Regions from separate parts of the Homo sapiens genome. Here regions 1 and 3 are each linked to region 2. The links are contacts of gene promoters, found by promoter capture Hi-C in human tissues and cell types (Jung and others, 2019). All regions are on one chromosome and are shown on one strand. Each heading gives the region's core, a stretch centred on a gene start or on the middle of the fragment in contact. The rest is flanking DNA. Distances are from core to core; before and after follow the strand shown. Region 1 overlaps BNC2 (basonuclin zinc finger protein 2). Region 2 holds the start of BNC2 (basonuclin zinc finger protein 2). Region 3 has its middle 62 kb from the start of BNC2.

The links. The method cuts DNA at HindIII sites, captures the fragments that hold promoters and counts their contacts. A contact is called where the count stands out against the background at its distance.
Region 1: a contact is called between a fragment that was not itself captured here and the fragment with the promoter of BNC2 in region 2, in 1 of the 25 tissues and cell types used here (hippocampus).
Region 3: a contact is called between a fragment that was not itself captured here and the fragment with the promoter of BNC2 in region 2, in 1 of the 25 tissues and cell types used here (lymphoblastoid cells).

What each region holds. Positions count from the first base shown.
Region 1 is chr9:16,826,709-16,830,421 of GRCh38, forward strand. All of the region lies in intron 1 of BNC2 (basonuclin zinc finger protein 2), which reads right to left. Among named protein-coding and RNA genes, the nearest start is that of BNC2, 42 kb to the right of the region's middle. RefSeq lists an enhancer at 2,170-2,339. The HindIII fragment of the contact is 3,516 bases long and covers 1-3,247 here.
Region 2 is chr9:16,868,887-16,872,424 of GRCh38, forward strand. BNC2 (basonuclin zinc finger protein 2) reads right to left here and starts at 1,784. Exons shown (of 7, transcript NM_017637.6): 1 at 1,760-1,784. The coding sequence starts at 1,762. The HindIII fragment of the contact is 8,994 bases long and covers 1-3,538 here.
Region 3 is chr9:16,930,958-16,934,797 of GRCh38, forward strand. No RefSeq gene overlaps it. Among named protein-coding and RNA genes, the nearest start is that of BNC2, 62 kb to the left of the region's middle. The HindIII fragment of the contact is 3,915 bases long and covers 1-3,370 here.

The DNA of each region.
Region 1 (3,713 bases), core at 240-2,739, 42 kb before region 2:
AGGGAAACCCCAATAACCCAAGTGGACAATAGCTCTGTGCTGGATCAAGTCTCCAAATCCAGGGCAACAAACTATGGAAAATAGCCTAAAGACAGATGAAATGATGGATGGATAGATGGATGGATGGATGATCGATGGATGGATGAATACACAGAGCTATCTAAATAAGAAAAAAATTTTCTAAATGCTATCAAAATTCCATATAATACAGATGACAGATTTTGATGAAGGGACAAGCTATCCACTTCACCTGATGCAGAAAAACCAAAGGTTAATGTATGTAACTTTTTTGGTTTATTCCAGTTCCCAGATAACCAGCAATAAGTGCTATGATTTAAGCGATGTTACCAATTAGACTTGGAGATAGCTACCACAGCACTGACTATAATGCTTACATTGCATTAGGTTTAATTACTGTAAAGTTACATCTGGAGAGGAAAACATAATTTTATAACCACTCTCAGCATTCTAACTTGTGCTCAGTCTCTGCACGATACATATTTGCCCAAGTAATTGAAGCCCTACAAGGCACCACAGTTAATAATGTGTAACTAGGAGAAACACATGGAAAAGCGACAAGCAGGTCTCTGTGAATTAAATTCACATGTAATTATGTGACCTTTCAGTGTTCTTCTAGTCTTCCTGAGAGCAGGTACTCCAGAGCAGCTGCGACCAGCCTCAGTGGGACCCACTGAACAGGAATTTGACTGAGAGTGGAGGAAAGAGGTATTGTACTGATGGAGAAAGATGAAGACAATTGCTTGGGTGAGTCCAGCTCTGATTCTCCTACTTGTCACTCATTGTCATATTCCTAGAATCCGGAGAACTCAGTCAACACATGAGTAATTCGATCAAAAAGGAAAACTATAAACTTTGTTGTTCATGGTGACTTAAGTGCATTGGGTCTCAACCTAAAAATGGGGTGCGTGCAAAGGAGTGGAATTTGTGAGTACTGGTGAAAGAACAAGAAAAGGAGATTAAGAGATTCTATGTGCACACGTGTGTAAAAGAGTATCATGGTACATATGGGAAGAAGTGTGAAACATGTATAGCTGGCTACATTTTTCAAGACTGAATTACAGTACAGGAATACAAAAACAAAAAAGAAAATGGGCCCCTATAATTTATAAATCTCAGACTCATGATTAATGGCAACATGTATTTTGTTTGAATCCATATGATATGCCCATTCATCCAAAAAACATTTATTGAGGCATGTCTGTATTCTTCATAAAGTGATCAAAGATGGCAGTGCTTTATAGAATTACCTTATATATCCATTATAAACTGAAAGCAGTATTTCTACTACTAACACTAAATGATCTCAGGTCTAAATTTCCATGTCTGCAATGATATGTTCACACTATAAAGTCATCCAAAATCCTACACAAAATGTAAAAAGTACCTCAGGAAAAAAATTGACAGACATAACCAGACATCTGCATGCTACTTAAAATGTGATAAAAATGGAGTAGCTTAATCAAATCTTTTAATACCAAAATATTCTATAACTGTGCCCAAAAAAAAATCACAGGTTCAAATAAATTTGTAACTAATCCAGTGAGAAATACTGATTATATTTTATAGAAAAACCACAGCAAACAACACATTATATTTACCTGAACTTCCAGGTATCAATTCATAATACTTACAAAACCCTAACTGAAAATGCTTAGTCTTGAGTAAGCATAAACCCTTCCCATGAAATGAATATAAAATTAATACTGTCTCTTTAAGTTACAGGACCTGCTATAGTTAGGTAGTATGAAGCCAAGAATACGTTCTGAAGCTTAACTCTCAGGAGCAAACATTTTCTACTTGTGAAGTAAACTCTGTTGAAAGACAGCAGACTACGGTCCCACCAGTAAAAACAGGAAAGTTTTCAGCCAGTGACAGCTTTGCCTACAGAGAAAAAAAAAGTGTCACAGACTCACTTTATTAAACCATATGCTCATTGCCCTGTGAAGAAAGCAGGGTCACTAATTAGTTCATTCTGTGAAAGAAGCCCTTCCTGATCCCGTTGACTTTTGTCCCCCTGGTTAGCTCCAGCTATTTCTGTCATGCAACTTGAAAATCACTGGAGGGAGGAAGATCGCCATAACAACCGCTGAAATGATCTTGTGGAATGTGTCTAGTGGCACTGGAATAACCTGAATATGTGCTCCAGATGTGTCGGCTGTCAGGAAAAAAGTAAACACATCTGATGGACAGCGTATGACTAGATGGCCCCGAAGCGACTCCAGAGGCTGGGGCGCGGGGGAGAGGCCGCATGTGTGAGCAGGGGGGCGGCGGGGTGGGCTGGGCAGAGCAGAAGGGAGGCGAGCCAGGAGCCGGCACGAGGCACCAGGGGACCTGGGGCCTGGGGCGGCCTGGGAGGACTGAGCGCGACTGTTCCGCCCGCGTCCCTCCCCTGAGTGGCCTCTGCGGGACTGCAGCGGCCTCTGCGAATTTCCGTCTGGCACGGACTTGTGAGCATTAGGGAGCAAACTACAACATGAATGCTGAGGAAGGGTAGAAGAGAGGAGCGGGCTCAAAACGCTTTCTGTCTTAAATATTAATGGCAACATGTTTTTAAAGCATTCTATCTTCAGGGTAGGGCTGTCTCCTGGCCCCTACTCACCCTTTACCAAATGAATGGTTTTGCTTTTTTGTTCCATATGCATACTCAAGCACTCTTTTTATTAGGTGACTGGGTGATTACATTCCTGATCCGAATATGTTGTCTTTTTTGATGGTGGTGGTGTTCCGCAGACTTTCACAAGTTGGACAAGTGGGTTGGTTCCCTAACCCAAAACATTTTTTAAAAATATTTTTCTAATAAAATACATAGAAATGACTAGAAAACACGATATAGGCCAAAACACATTCTCACCTTAGTTCCTATTCTCAGGGGTGTTTGCAAAGAGGAGGATTTAGATCTATGCCCAGTGCTAACATTCACAAACAAAACGGCAATTCTACAAACATCTTAACGCACAGTAGGCACTTGTTAAATATTTGCTGATCAAAATATTTTTAATGTACAAAATTCAACTACAAATGCTACTTGGGTTCTACATATAAACAGTGGCAGGGATTACTTAAAAAAATAAGTAACCAAGCTTAAAAATACTTAAGAAAAATAAATAGGAAGTTTATTTCCCCAGGGGAACAGAAATGCCCCCCTAAAGAAAATAGAAAACACTATATTCACACTATAGGACACAAACCACCTACTTGTGCATGAATCCACCACATTTTAATGCCTATTTCTACTCCAATCATTTGTAGAATGGGCCTTACTTAAGTTTTAGAGACTATGTATAAAAATATTCACTACATTTCTGCTATAAATGCTTATATCTGTGAAAAGCCTAGAAGGTCTGTAAAGAAATTTACAATCTATGTGAAAAGCTTTTGAAACAACATATTCCATATTTTCTTTCAAAAACTCCACACAATTATATTTCAATAAAATATCTAACGGTTTTCCAACATGGTATAAACAAAAAACAAAACTGCATTGGAGGGCAATTATCTCTATAACATACACAGTTATCAGCTTGGCTAAGGCAAGGCAGTATTCACCTAGTATAGCTGTCCCTCAGTATCAGGGTGGTACGGAATGGTTGCAGGTCCCTCTGAGGATAGCAAAATCTTCGAACGCTCAAATCCCTTAAAAATTGGTGTAGCATTTGCATATAACCTACACACATCCTCTTATACTTGAAATC
Region 2 (3,538 bases), core at 534-3,033:
AAGTAACGTGCCAGAAATAAATTCCTCCCATTTAAAGCATGTATGCGTGTGGACAGTAACACGTGAAATTGCAGAATACAAAGCAGTGGAAGGCAGACAGGCTTAGCCACAGTTCAAAGTCATTAGGATATAGGAATACATGTGTAGACAAATAGTTAACATAGGCTAGGGTAAAGGGAAGAAAAATAATACCTGCCACCGGCTTTTACAGTGTTCTTGTGTAAAACGCCCGTTAGAAGAAAAACTCTCAAGCTCTAAACAGATATATTTAATATTGTTGTGATGTCTCACTTAAACACGGCTTTCAACAATTCCAAGTGTCCACGAAGTATATAAAAATAAAACAGGCCACTTTTTGCCACTTTAATCCTGGGTACACAGGATTATTTTATGATGTCTTTTGTACGTCAGTTTTACAACAGCTTGACTCTAGGGTAAATGGGAACCATCATAAATCGCACGCTGCTTTCAAAACCACTTTAATTTCTGTCAGCGTTACTGTAACCACAGTCCTGGGCTCTTGCTTTTGTGTGTGTGTGTGTGTGTACGCGCCCCTGCATTTGACAGTCCCATCTCCTACACTCCAGTTGTGACTTTGATCACTGAAACAAGAGATGTCACATTAGGGAGCAGGGAAGAGGAAAAAATGCCAACCCGCTATCTCACCTGTATTCTCATATGTTCCCTCTATATACGGAATACACCATGTCAGATCCCCAAGTGGGGGTAACAATAGCGACGCTGGGAGGAAGCAAACTAAAAAGAAGGGAGTGGTCAAGCCCCATTTCTAACAAATCACTTCCCCGAAAGCGGACAGAGCGGCTCATCACCAGGCGAACTAATTGCACGCTTCCTCGCTGCAAAGAAGTCGCTTCTCGTAGAGGGGCTGTGCTGGAGTCTCGCTTGGCAAAGCCAGCCCATCTCCTCCACCACTTGCACTTGGAACTTTTTTTCAACCTTAAACTCACTTCACAGGAGATTTCACCTAGGGTTTTTCAGCATATATAATTTTTTATTCTGCTCCCTCCCCAGGCCCCAAATCCCACCCTCCAGTCAACGTGCAAGTAAAACAAATCGGCTCCTATAGAATTGCACTTCGAAAAGAGCCGTCTCTGCAAGGTTGATTTTCCTGCCCTGCGTTCTGCACCTTCTCCGTAAAGCCTGCGGGAGCATTTCCTCCCATCTCCATTTACCACGGGAAGATTCCGAATGTGAAGACAAGGGGAGAGGAAGAGTCAACGTGCCGGGCCCGGGCGGCTGCGCCCCAGCGCACCCGGCACCCACGCCCAGCCGCCGGTCCCTCACTCGGCGGCAAGTTGTAAAAGTTCCCGTAGGTCCCAGCCGCCTTCCTCTCTTCCCCGAGCTCCTGCCAGCGCTCCATTCATCCCCCACTCCCCTCCACCTCGTCCCCCCAGCCCGTCCCCAACGCCCTGGAGCCTCCCCTAGCCAGCCGCTCACCTTCGCGCGGAAGCCGCGAGCGGGGCCGACCTTGAGAAGCCCCCTCTCACGTGCACCCTCCCACCTAGAGCTCGCCTCAGAAACTTGGGGCCAAGTTTAGGGGAGGCCACTGGGAGCGCAGCGGGGATCAGGTCGGACCGGGGTTCTGGTCCCCGGCCCGCCCTCCTCAGCGCCCCTTGCCCCTCACGCCGCGGGCCGGAGGGCGGACACGGCCCCCGGGCGGCCCCGGTGGCGCTCGGGCGCGGGGGTCATTTCTGAGGAAGTCTAGAATAAAAGAGGAAGGAGGGTGGAAACTTCTTACCATCTCGGCATGCTGGTTGTCAAGTGCAGCCCCCGCCTCTTGGTCTCCTCTTAGCGGCCGCGCCTGGACCAGCCCCTCGGCCGCCGCTGGCTCCCTCCGTCTCGGCCTTTCTCTCCCTCCCCCTCCGAGTTCCTCCGGGCCTCCGCTCTCGCCGCCTCCGCCTCCCCGCCCGCCCGCGCGCGCCCTCGCCGCGGCCCCTCTGCGCTCAGGTGACTGATTTACACTCGCGCCGGGGTCGCGCTCGCGCCCCGAGTCCCAGCCGGCACGGTTCCCCGGCTCCTCCTCGGGACAAAAAAAAAAAAAAAGGGAACGGCTTGTCCCGGGAGGGGGCTGCCCTGCTCGCGGGAGGCGGGGGACCGGCGGGCGAGGTGACCTCGGCGGCCGTGCAAGCCCCACAAGTTTTTCCTCTCTCTGCAGAATTGTCGTGACTACAATGTTGCTTCCCTTTTGCAAAATAAAAGTCGGTCGTTGTGTTGTTTGTCCTCAGAGGTCCAGGGGCTTGGGGAAGGAGGATGTATGTTTCTCCCTCCCCCCACCGCCCCGTGACTTCTTTGGGGGCTTGTTTGTTGTTTGGGTTGTTCTTGCTCTCTCTTTCTGGGGATGGAAAAAACAACTTTGTGGGGATGGAAAAACAACCCTGGCGCCCCCCCCCCCCCCCGGGGAGCTGCGGGCGTGGAGGTAGAGGTGGCCGCTAGCGCCCAGCTGTCACACACACACAAAAAAAAATTGCGGGGCGGGGGTGGGGAGCGGAGCAAGGAGAGGAGGCTGCGAAACGCCGAGGAAAGGGCGCGAACTTTATTCCGACTGCAGCAAACCGCGGCAGCTCTTTCCTTTTCGGGCACTCGGGCGTCTCTGTCCCCTTTGACCAGTTCCTCCTCCCCAGCCCCGCACGCCCCCTCCTCCCCTGCCCCTTCCCCAGCGTCCCAGCCGCGGCCGACCCGGCTCCCCGCGACCCTCTCAGCCCAGCTCCTCCGCGCGCCGCTGGGGAGAAGGCGAGTGAGGCGGAGGAAAACCCAGCGGACAGAAACCTGGGACGCGAACGTGCTGGGAGAAAAGGCCAAAAGTTGCGCGCAGCTGGGGGAAAAAAGTTTTTCTGGTGGCGGAGCGTTTTGTGCCGGCCCAGACGCCGGCTTGCGGCGAGGGCTTCCTTCCCTTTCCCGTGGTCTGGGCCGCGGGCCTCGGGCTGGAGAGGAAGGAGGCTGTCGCGCCCGCGGGGGAAAGAACAGTCACATCTGTGGGTGACACTCAGCCGACCCAAGTCACCCTGCCCTGGAGACTCAGAAACGCCGACTACAGCCTAAGCGCGCACACGCCTGCAGCTGAACGATATTTCTTAAATACAGGCAAAACACACTCCCCGGCCGCAAGAATGGGGCGGGGGTGGGGGGGGAGCTTAATCATCATCATCTAACTAACGTACACTTTGTGCCAAAAACATCTCCGAGTTATGCAGATTTATCATAACTACAGCAAACTTTCTGGTTATCTAACATGGGAGGAAGGCATAGGTTTCAAGCATACTCCCTGAGCACTAAGAAATCAGAGAATCGGCGAAGACTTGGCAGAACAGCAGGTATGGTTACCGGTTCCTAGTGAAAAGTGAGAATCATCCCTTCTTCCCTTCTCTCTTCCTCAAACGGAGAGAGAGAGAGAGAGAGACTACTTAATTGCATTCAGAGGACAGAATTAAATTCCTTTGAAAATATGTAGCCTTGGAATTACATGGTTTTATTTTCTTTGCAGAGTCCGGTCTTAGTTTAATATAAATTTTCACAGTAA
Region 3 (3,840 bases), core at 163-2,662, 62 kb after region 2:
CAACAAAGTGAGACCCCATCTCTACAAAAAATTAAAAAATTAGCTGAACATAGTGGCTTACGTCTGTAGTTCCAGCTACTGGGGACCAGCGGGGAGGGGGTCTGAGGTGGGGGGATCGCTTGAGCCCAGGAAGTTGAGGCTGCAGTAAGCTGTGATTACACCACTGCACTCCAGCCTGGGTGACAGAGAGAGACCTTGTCTCAAAAAAAAAAAAAAAAAAAAAAGAAAGTGTCAGATCCACTCATTCACTCTCTATCCCTTCTTCCTATCATGACTTTCATTGTAGTATCCTTCTTACTGATCTTATTGCCTCTAGTCTTAAGAGTTTCATCCACCTCCTCTACAGTTGCACCAGAGAGATCATATTAGGTTGCAAATACCATCAATGCCAGATATTATTTGTCCATTTGGGAAACATCTATTGGGGCCAACTTGTACACTTGGTGTTTATTCTTCAGCAATCAACATCCTTCTTTTCGCTTTCTATAAGGCTTTTGTTTCTATCTTGAAATCCATGTGATTCTGCCAATGGAGCATGTGACCTAGAATATTCCATCTCTCTCTCTTTTTTTTTTTGAGACAAAGTCTTGCTCAGCCACCCAGGCTGGAGTGCAGTGGTGCTATCTTGGCTCACTGCAACCTCCGCCTCCCAGGCTCAAGCGATTCTCCTGCCTCAGCCTCCCGAGTAGCTGGGACTACAGGTGAGTGCCACCACGCCCAGCTAATTTTTGTATTTTTAGTACAGATGGGGTTTCACCATGTTGGCTAGGATGGTCTCCATCTCTTGACCTCGTGATCCGCTTGCCTTGGCCTCCCAAAGTGCTGGGATTACAGGCATGAGCCACTGCAACCGGCCTCCATCTCTTTTGACACATAGGTTGGTTCTTTTGTGACATCTGACCTAGGGTGCCAATTGGAGCAAAACTTAAATTCTGCTTGGAATGTTCAGATAAAGGGTGTTCACTTTCCTTCCAGAGGGTATGTAGCTGTGAGACATGGAATTGTTACAGCTATGTTTGTTCTATGAGGAAATGTAGTCTGAGAATAAAGCAAGCACAGAGGGGACAGCAGAGCCAAGAAAGTCAGAAAAATGGACCCAGAGCCCAAATGATAAGAAATTCTGATTCAAGCCATGCCTGATGTCTCTGACTGGACATTTTGTTTCATGAACCAATAAATTACCTTTATTATTTAAACCAGATTGAATTGAATTTTCTATTATTTGCAACAACAACAAAAAATCTGCTCAAAAGCTTACTGTGTGCTAGGGTTTATACTAGAAGCTTAAAGCCATTTCACTACTTCAATGCTTCTCCTTGCCTATAGTGTTATTGATAATTAGTATAATCACATGCAGGACAAAGTCTCAATTCCTTTCCAAGGAGTTTCTCAATCAACAATGTTCTCCATGAAATGGCCTTGTCTACTTTTTTTGCTGCATCCCTTGTGGCATTATATATGTGTGTTTTCCGTTTTCATATTGCTATAAAGATACTACCCAAGGTACACTCTTCCTTAATTTATAAAGGAAAGAGGTTTAATTGACTCACAGTTCTGCATGGCTGGGAAGGCCACGGAAAACTTACAATCATGGCGGAAGGGGAAGCAGGCACGTCTCACATGGTGGCAGGAGAGATAGAGTGTGTGTGAGCGCAGGAAAAACTACCATTTACAAAACCATCAAATCTCGTGAGAATTCACTCCCTATCATGAGAACAGCATGGGGGAAACCACCCCCGTAATCAAATCACTTCCCTCCATTAACATATGGGGATAACAATTTGAAATGAGATTTGGGTGAGGACACAGAGCCAAACCATGTCTGTCTGTCTGTCTGTCTGTCTGTCTGTCTGTCTGTCTGTCTATCTAGCTATCTATCAGGCGTGGTGGTGGGCGCCTGTAGTCCCAGCTACTCAGGAGGCTGAGGCAGGAGAATGGCGCGAACCCAGGAGGTGTAAACTGCAGTGAGCCGAGACCGCGCCACTGCATTCCAGCCTGGATGACTGAGGGAGACTCTGTCTCAAAAAAAAAAAAGAAATATTCACTTTGACGAATGCTGCACTGACCGTCATATTCAGCAGGATTTGGAATTATCATTAGAATTTGTGCGTACTTGGCAAGAACACCTTTCCCTTCATTGTCCAGGAAAATTCTCATCTGAACCTACAAGGCTAGAATAAAATTACCACCTCAGTGAAGTCTTCCCTTAACCCCTTGCAGCCTTACATTTTCTTTCTGATGTTCCCATAAGTAATTTATAAAGCTTATAAATTATCTTGAAGGATTTTAATTGTTGGGGTCTGTTTCTGTACTGGAGTATAAACTCCTTGAGGATAGCAACCATGTCTTTTGGCTTTCTATCTTTCAGGTCTTGTCGTAGTGTGTGGCACGTGGTAGGTGTCCAATAAGTGCAATAAAATGATGTGTTATGCTAAAAGTGTTATAGAGTTCAAATATAGTACTGTCCAGAACCATTAAGGAGCTGAGAAATGTTACAGTTAAGGGCCAATATTGTCAAGAACTGTGAAGGGTTTGAGATTTTACCCTACTTGTAAGCTATTAAGTTAGCTTGCCACAATATCATGGATGTTGTCAGAGACATGAGGCTCCTTGATCAGAGACAAAATAATGTATTAATCATGACAGTATTGGTAGACAAAGTGCCCAATAATGGCAATTTCTACAAAGTGATACAAATAGGGTGAAGTGATGTCTGAATATGCTGTGGGTTGCATTGTAGGAGATGAATTGTTAGCCTAGCGAAACTGAATCTTTTAGCGTAGAGAAACAGCCTGCCCTTTGCCCTAGAGAGAGACCTTAATTTTGTTATTCTGCACAGTAAACAAACCTGCTCTTGGCTCTGGAGGAAAATACTATCTCGGTCTTCCAAGGCTGTCTGTCATACAAGCATCCTTGAAAAGATAGTCTAGAACACAATGAGTTGTTCCACTGGCAAGATGAGCAGAAGTTTTATAGACCCATAGAGATTGTCTCCCCAAAAAAGACAGAATAGTTACAGTTGTGATTTCAATTCATGAAAGTGGTCGAAGAGGAGGTGATACTTAAGCCGAGGCTTAAAATATATGAGTAGGCATTCACCAGACAGATAGGATAGTAGGACATTTCATGAAGCTGGAGCAATGAGGAGGAGCATGAAGGAAAGGTGACTTAAGATGGTCTGACAAGGACAGCGTGTGAGGGAAGAAGGGGTCTCGTGAGATACTAGAAAAGGTAGGCCAGATGCAGCTCCCAGAAAGTCTTCTCTATCAGGCTGAGGACTACTTTATCCTGAGGTCAACAGGGAGCCAATGAAGGTTTCTAAGCAACTGAGGCATGTAGTCAGATTTGCATTTTAGAAAGATCTGTCTGAAACAGAAAGGGCATTCAAGGCAGAAGGAACAGCACGGATAGAACACACATTCAAGTGCCCAGTAAATTGAGGTAACCATAGGTGTCTCTGAATATGATGGTCAGTGCAACATTCATCAAAGTGAATATTTCTTTTTTTTTTTTTTTTTTTGAGACAGAGTCTCACTCAGTCACCCAGGCTGGACTGCAGTGGCGCAATCTCAGCTCACTGCAATTTACACCTCCTGGGTTCACGCCATTCTCCTGCCTCAGCCTCCCGAGTAGCTGGGACCACAGGCGCCCACCACCACACCCGGCTAATTTTTTCATATTTTTAGTAGAGACGGGGTTTCACCGTGTTAGCCAGGATGGTCTCGATCTCCTGACCTCGTGATCTGCCTGCCTCGGCCTCCCAAAGTGCTGGGATTAAAGGTGTGAGCCACCACGCCCAGCCCAAAGTGAATATTTCTTAAGAGTGACTCAGCACTTTTA